2 separate regions of the Homo sapiens genome follow, and region 2 is linked to region 1. The links are contacts of gene promoters, found by promoter capture Hi-C in human tissues and cell types (Jung and others, 2019). All regions are on one chromosome and are shown on one strand. Each heading gives the region's core, a stretch centred on a gene start or on the middle of the fragment in contact. The rest is flanking DNA. Distances are from core to core; before and after follow the strand shown.

Region 1 (3,606 bases), core at 783-3,282:
AGGACCAGGAGTTGTGGAATGTCTGGTTTCAGTTCCAGCTCCACCAATTTGCTTGTGTGACTTTGGGCCAGTTCTGGAGCCCACCTGAACTGGGCTTCCTCTTCCCTAAAATGGAAATATGATCCACACTGGGTCTATCCCACAGGGATGTTGGGAAGCCCAAATGAAAATAGTGTGAAGTGCCCCCAAACAGGAGAGCACAAACCCCTGGCCTGTAGGCTGGATCTGATCCATAAAGCCATTTCCTTTGGCTTGAACAGTGTTGACCTATGTAGAAAGTGTTTAGCATTATACAAATGAGCTCCTAACAAATTTGGGGCCTTCACTTAAATATCTGACTTATGGCTTTTTTTTTTTTTTTGAGACGGAGTCTTGCTCTGTCACTTAGGCTGGAGGGCAGTGGTGCGATCTCGGTGCACTGCAATCTCTGCCTCCTGGGTTCAAGTGATTCTCCTGCCTCAGCCTCCTGAGTAGCTGGGATTACAGGCACGCACCACCACACCTTGCTAATTTTGTATTTTTAGTACAGATGGTTTCACATGTTGGCCAGGCTTGTCTCAAACTCCTGACCTCAGCTGATCCACCCACCTTGGCCTCCCACAGTGCTGGGATTACTGGCGTGAGCCACCGTGTCCGGCTGATGGCTTCTTTTTCAAAATGGGAGGATCTGGCCACATGAATCCCTTTCCCTAGATGACAAAATAGACTGAGCTGAGTAGCAGCAGCCCCTTCCCTTGGGCAAGAACCTGGAGCTGCTATCAAGCTCACCACAGTCCCCACCACTCCCTACTATGTCCCAACACTGGGACCAAGTCTCTGCTGCCATTTATTATTGCTCTGGGATATTGATTTGCTCCAGTGGAGCTCTAGTGGAAGTGAAATCGTTCAAATAACCATATTTCTATAAAAACGTAAAATGAAAGTCCTAGAAAGTACTCCCCCATCTGGGTCACAATGTCAAAAACGAAACCCCTTTGCCTAAGTGTTAGCCCTTGCCAATGGGCCCATGAAGGATGCCCATTGTGGGGGTCAGAGCTGGCATCCGGAGTCTTACGGGGTCCACGGCCCTCTACTTGCCTATCTCTGTTGTCTTCATCTGTAAAGGAGGAGTAGCAGCAGCTCCTTTTTCCTAGGGTTAGGGTGCACAACGCCCACCAGGCACTTAGTGAACTGTTCATTCAAGGTTAGCGGTTGAAACGCAAACATTTTGAACTGATAAAAAACTCTGGTGGGCCGGGCGCCGTGGCTCATGCATGTAATCCCAGCACTTTGGGAGGCCGAGGTGGGCGGATCACCTGACGTTCGAGACCCGCCTGGCCAACATGGTGAAACCCCGTCTCTACTAAAAATACAAAAGTTAGCTGGGCGTGGTGGTGTGCGCCTGTAGTCCCAGCTACTCGGGAGGCTGAGGCAGGAGAATCGCTTGAACCAGGGAGGCGGAAGTTCCAGTGAGTCGGGATCGCGCCACTGCTCTCCAGCTTGGCCATAGAGCGAGATTCCGTCTCAAACAGCAACAACAACAACAAACCTTTGGTGGGAGGTCGGAGTGTGAAATGAAAGACTTAGGGTTCCTGAGTGGGACTACAGCAAGGATTGGGAAGAAAAAAAGGAGATGGAAAAAGACGATTTAGGAGAGGTAAAAGTTCTGTTACTAGGACCCCAGCCCTCACTGGCCCACATCCGCTGGCGAGGACCTAACTTACTGCACCCAGCTTCCCAGTGGCCAGACCTAGGTTCCAGTCCTGGCTGGGGCAAGTCATTACCTTGTCTGGTGCTGTTTCTGCACCTATCAAATGAGGATGGAAATGTCTAGATGAACCGAGATAAACGCATACGAAAGCACTTTGGGAATCTGAAAAGCGCTATGAACAGGTTAGGAGTTTTTGGTCTCTTTTCAAAAAGTTTTTCTTCTAAGCTCATGTTTATCAAGGGCTTTTGAGTTTATCGAGGCTAAGACCCTCCCCTCGGTTTCGCAATTCTGCCCCTTCCTACACACCAAAGTCCGCGCCGCGTCAGGAGTCTTTTTTTTCTCCCCTAGCGAAGGCGGGGACTCGGGCGCTGTTGGCAGCTGGCGACGCGGGGCGAAGCCGCGGCTGGCGGCGCCTGGCCAGTCCCGCATCCGCCGCGGTGGGTGTGCCCGCAGGGGTGCGCCGGGGCCAGGGCCGAGACCGTCGGCCAGAGGGCGCCTGGAGGGTGTGCGCGCCGCGGACGACCAGGGTGCGCCAGCCCCGGGGTGCGCGCCTGGGACGCGGACAGTGCACCCGGAGGTTGCGTGCGCTCCGAAGCCGGGGTGTGCGCCTAGCTGCCCCGGCCCCGTGCACCGCGGGCCGCCTCGCGCAGGACTTCCGCAGCTCGCCAAGGTAAGGGACTCTGCGACCCCAGTCCCCCGCAGTGCGTCTGCTGGGGTGTTCAACACCCGCCCTGCGCGACCCGAGTGTTGGCCCCGGCGCTCGACCACTCTCCTCTTGCCTCTGCCACCCGCCTCGCCCAGTCCCCAGCGCCGCGTCCCCGGCTCCCTTTAAAGCAGTGGCTGCGGCAGCTTGGGCCGACCTGGCGCCCCCGCCTCCCAGCCTGGGGTCTGCGACAGAAAAGGAGCGGGGCTGCTCGGGCTGCCCAAAGGTGGGCGCCGCTCCCTTTCCAGCCCAGATTGGCTCTCCGCGCCCCAATTCTGGGGGTGGAGAACACTGGTGAGGAGGGGGAGGCCGTGCTGTCCTTGCGACTCAGGTGGTGCAGCCCCCGCCCAGCTTTTCCGAGCTAGGCGCTGCGGTCTGGGATGCAGCCTGCGGGACTGGGCGTTCTTTGCCGCGGGCTCCCACTGCTACCTGGAATCGAGCTCTTAGTCTCTCTCCTGTCGCAAAAGTCTCCCCGTAGTGCCAACCCTGGCACTCCTCGGCCCCTGGCTGAACTTTCCAGGGCTCCCTTTGGGCCGCGACCTTGGGCGGAGGCAATGGGGCAGCTCCGAGTGCTCTAGACGCCGCCGAGGGCGCTTTGCCCAGCCCGCATGCCTCCTGTGGGCTCCTTTCCCTTCTGCCTCTCCGGTAAGGTCAAATCTGTGACTGGGTACTTTGACCCCGCAGACTGGCCAGAAATGGGAGTTGGAAAGTCGAGCCCATGGCCGCTACGCTGGGTCTGAACCTAACTCTTGCCCTGGGCATCCTTCGGGGCTGCCAAACTCAAGTCTTAGTTCCTAAGCGCCCTGGAGTGCAAGCCTTTAGGGCAAAGAGGGAGTATTTTCCAGGAGAGGGAGGAGGACCCCCTGAGGCCTGGGCAAAGTCCTATCTACCAAATAGGGCCAGAGGAGGATCAGATGCAGCCAGTGACCCGGCTGAGGCATGGGGAGAAAGCATCTTGAGTTAAACACGATTCCCAAGGACCTGCTTGGGTAAATCAAGCCCAGGTTGCTTAGAGCCTCTCAAAATGTGACACAGGAAAGCTACACTGGGAATGGAGGCAGAGTCCGTTCTAATACTGCCTTTTCAAGCCCAGCCTTCCCACTTCACTGGACCATAATGTGACCTGGGGAAAGTGAGTTTTGGGGAATGGCTCGGGGATCAGACCAGACTGATTCAATCAACAAATGCTCTGTGCCAGGCACTGGTCAACGTA
Region 2 (3,606 bases), core at 482-2,981, 55 kb after region 1:
TTTCCATTCCTCTCAAACCCTGACGTTTAATTCTGTAGTCATTACTGTTTTTCTTGAAGTGTACCTCTGGGTCAAGAGACTGAAAACAAGAAAATACGCATTGGCTCCTTCACACCTTCATGGCTTACAGAGATTTAAACACATAGTGATTCTACTTTTAATCAAGGGATATTGGCACAGACACATTTTCCCAAGTTATGAGAGCAGCTGTAAGACCCATGGTGGAACAACCCGTAAGCATTTTTAAAAGCCATTTTGCTCTCCTTTGCAAAAGAGCCCTAGAAGTAAAAACGATCAATTCATCAGCATTTATTTCTTACCCAACTCATTTTTGTTATTTTATCTTAGCTGATTTGACAAATAGTTGTTCCCTAAAGAACCAATATGTAGGGCCAGGGCCAGTGTCTCACGCCTGTAATCCCAGTACTTTGGGAGGCCAAGACAGGTGGATCACTTGAGCCCAGGAGTTTGAGACCAGCCTGGGCAATATGGCAAAACCCTGTCTCTACAAAAAAATACAAAAAATTAGCCTGGCATGGTGGCACACGCCTGTAGTCCCAGCTACTCAGAGGCTGAGGTGGGAGAATCGCCTGAGCCCCAGAGGTTGAGGCTGCAGTGAGCTGTGATTGCACCACTGCACTCCAGCCTTAGCACTAGAGTGAGATCCTGTCACAAAAACACAGAGAAAAAAAAAAAGAACCAATATGTGATGTGGATGTTGATCAAAACTCCTGTCACTTATTCTTAATTGAATTATCGAACTAAGGTCTTTCTTAGCTCTTCATTCAAAATCCACCACTCGACCGGTCGCAGTGGCTCACGCCTGTAATCCCAGCACTTTGGAAGGCCGAGATGGACGGATCACCTGAGGTCAGGAGTTCAAGACCAGGCTGGCCAACATGGCAAAACCCTGTCTCTACTAAAGTACGAAAATTAGCTGGGTGTGGTGGCCCGCGCCTATAATCCCAGCTACTTGGGAGGCTGAGGCAGGAGAATTGCTTGAACCCAGGAGGTGGAGGTTACAGCAAGCTGAGATCATACAACTGCACTCCAGCCTGGGCCACAGAGCGAGACTCTGTCTCAAAAGAAACCAACCAACCAAACAAACGGACAAAAACAAAAAACAAAATCCACCCCTCTGTTCCTTAATATTAGGATCTTTCTCCAGATTTTCTTGAAGATCCCATGGATAAAGGAGATACTCTGATTTATTAAAGTGTTTCAGCCACAAAAGATTCCACTGATTCTGCTCTAGAAAAGTGATCAGAGGATATGCAAGCCCGGCACCACACCCATGTTAGGATCAAAGCACCGGATACTGTCTCCCTTGCCCCCATCTTAGAGGAAGAAGCAGGTGTGTAAGGACCTCACTCTGTAGAGCCATGGAAGGTAAGGGGCCAGTCCCCTTTTACTCCTATTTTATAACAGGACAAGTAAGGATCAAAAAGGTTGTATGACTTCCAAGGTCCCACAGCTGAGTCAGTGATTTTATTTATTTATTTATTTTTATTTTTTAATTTGAGACGGAGTTTCGCTCTTGTTGCCCAGGCTGGAGTGCAATGGTGCACTCACACACAACCTCCACCTCCCGGGTTCAAGCGATTCTCCTGCCTCAGCCTCCTGAGTAGCTGGGATTACAGGCCTGAGCCACCTTGCCCGGCTAATTTTGTATTTTTAGTAGAGACAGGGTTTCTCCATGTTGGTCAAGCTGGTCTTGAACTCCCAACCTCAGGTGATATACCCGCCTCGGCCTCCCAAAGTGTTGGGATTACAGGCGAGAGCTGCCGCGCCCGGCCGAGCCAGGGATTAAACTGTGTCACATCGATTCAGTGACTCCCAAGTCTAGGACTCTTCCCAGCATGAGTATGCAATCATTTATCATAATCATTTCTCAATAGCTTCTCTTCCCCATTAGGTAAATACCCTTTAAACACTGAGCTCATGTCACACACAAGAGTTGATGTCATTGGCTCTGGAACTCTTCTCGTTCATGGTCCCAGAGGAGCTGAATGCTGCAGATAGCAGGGTCCTGCCGTGGGTTCTTAAACCATTTACTCTCAAGGTCCTTGGAAAGCTTAAAAGCCAAACATGTCAAGCACACCTGTTTGGGTTTTATTTCAAGCATAAATTGGAGATGTTGTTTGCCTTCGCATGCATGTTTCCCATTAGTAAGATGTTGCGATTTTCCAGCTATGCCTATTAAACACACGCAGGTGTCCTGATAGAGTCTGGGGAAAGGTCATTGTGGGCTGGCTGTGTGAGGGGGAAGGAGAGGGCCTTTGTAATTGTGCGCATACCAGGGGTTTGAGCTAAACTTCTTACTGGGGGGTGTGAGCTAAACTTCCCGCAGACTCAAACTTTTTCCAGTTAAGTGCCTTGTTACTGGTTACTAGGCTGTCCTCCCAGTCTTCCTTTCCACTCCCAGAGGGGGCTGATCGCACAAGTACAAAGTATGTTGCTGCATTCCTAACCCCACCAGCTCTGAGCCCTTCAGGAATAAATCACATGGCAAGCTGGAGGGAGCTGCAGGGACAGAGGCCAAAGCTGTCTTTCCTTGTGTAAGGGAGGAACTCTTGCTGGCCGGGGAACCTCTTGGAATTGGTCTTTTTTGGGGTTTCAGAGGCAAAGCTTGAACACCATCAGTCAAGAGTGGTTCCGCGTCTCCAGCCGGAAGTCGTCTAGCCCCGCCGTGGTGGCCTCCTACCTCCACGAGGTCCAGCCTCACTCCCCACACTTCCTGAAACTGCTTGTCAACTTGGCCGATCACAACGGGAACACGGCCCTTCACTACAGCGTGTCCCACTCCAACTTCTCCATCGTGAAGCTGCTGCTGGAGACAGGTCAGAAGTGGTTGCATTCATACAGTCTGGGTCCCTCCTTGAAGAGCAGGGCAATTTTTAAAATTTTTTTCAAAAATTTCAATAGCTTTAAAGGTACAAGTGGTTTTTGGTTACATGGATGAATTGCACAGTGGTGAAGTCTGGTCTTGTAGTATACCCATCACCCAAATAGCATACATGGTACCCAATAGGTAGCTTTTCCTCACTGCCTTCCACCCTCCCCTCTTCTGACTCTCTGGTATAATTGTCCATTATGCCACTCTGTATGTCTTCGTGTACCTGTGGCTTAGCTCCCATTTAAATGAGAACATGCAGTATTTGGTTTTCCGTTCTTGAGTTACTTCACTTAGAATAATGGCCTCCAGTTCCATCCAAGTTGCTGCAAAAGACATTGTTTTGTTCTTTTTTCTGGCTGAGTAGTATTCCGTGGAATGTATGTATGTGTGTCTGTGCATATACGTATATATAACATTTTATTATATGTATATGTGAGTATACGTTATATATTTATTTTTTATATATATAACATTTTCCTTATCCACTCATTGGTTGACAGGCATTTAGGTTGATTCCATGTCTTTGCAATTGTGAATTGTGCTGTGATAGCATATAAATGCAGGTGTCTTTTTGATGGAATGACTTGAAGGGCAATTCTTATACCACATTTCTTTCTGTCAAGGAAATGCTTCACTGTTGAAAGTTCCCTCTGTGTTCCAGGAACTGGACTAGACCACTTTGCCTGTGTTTGCCTCATTTGTTCTTCACA

What was found. The method cuts DNA at HindIII sites, captures the fragments that hold promoters and counts their contacts. A contact is called where the count stands out against the background at its distance.
Region 2: a fragment that was not itself captured here is called in contact with the fragment with the promoter of KANK4 in region 1 in 1 of the 25 tissues and cell types used here (H1 embryonic stem cells).

Annotation. Positions count from the first base shown.
Region 1 is chr1:62,317,860-62,321,465 of GRCh38, reverse strand. KANK4 (KN motif and ankyrin repeat domains 4) reads left to right here and starts at 2,032. Exons shown (of 10, transcript NM_181712.5): 1 at 2,032-2,360. RefSeq lists enhancers at 1,992-2,714, 2,715-3,439. The HindIII fragment of the contact is 19,099 bases long and covers 1-3,606 here.
Region 2 is chr1:62,262,326-62,265,931 of GRCh38, reverse strand. KANK4 (KN motif and ankyrin repeat domains 4) reads left to right here. Exons shown (of 10, transcript NM_181712.5): 7 at 2,621-2,840. Among named protein-coding and RNA genes, the nearest start is that of KANK4, 55 kb to the left of the region's middle. The HindIII fragment of the contact is 3,320 bases long and covers 72-3,391 here.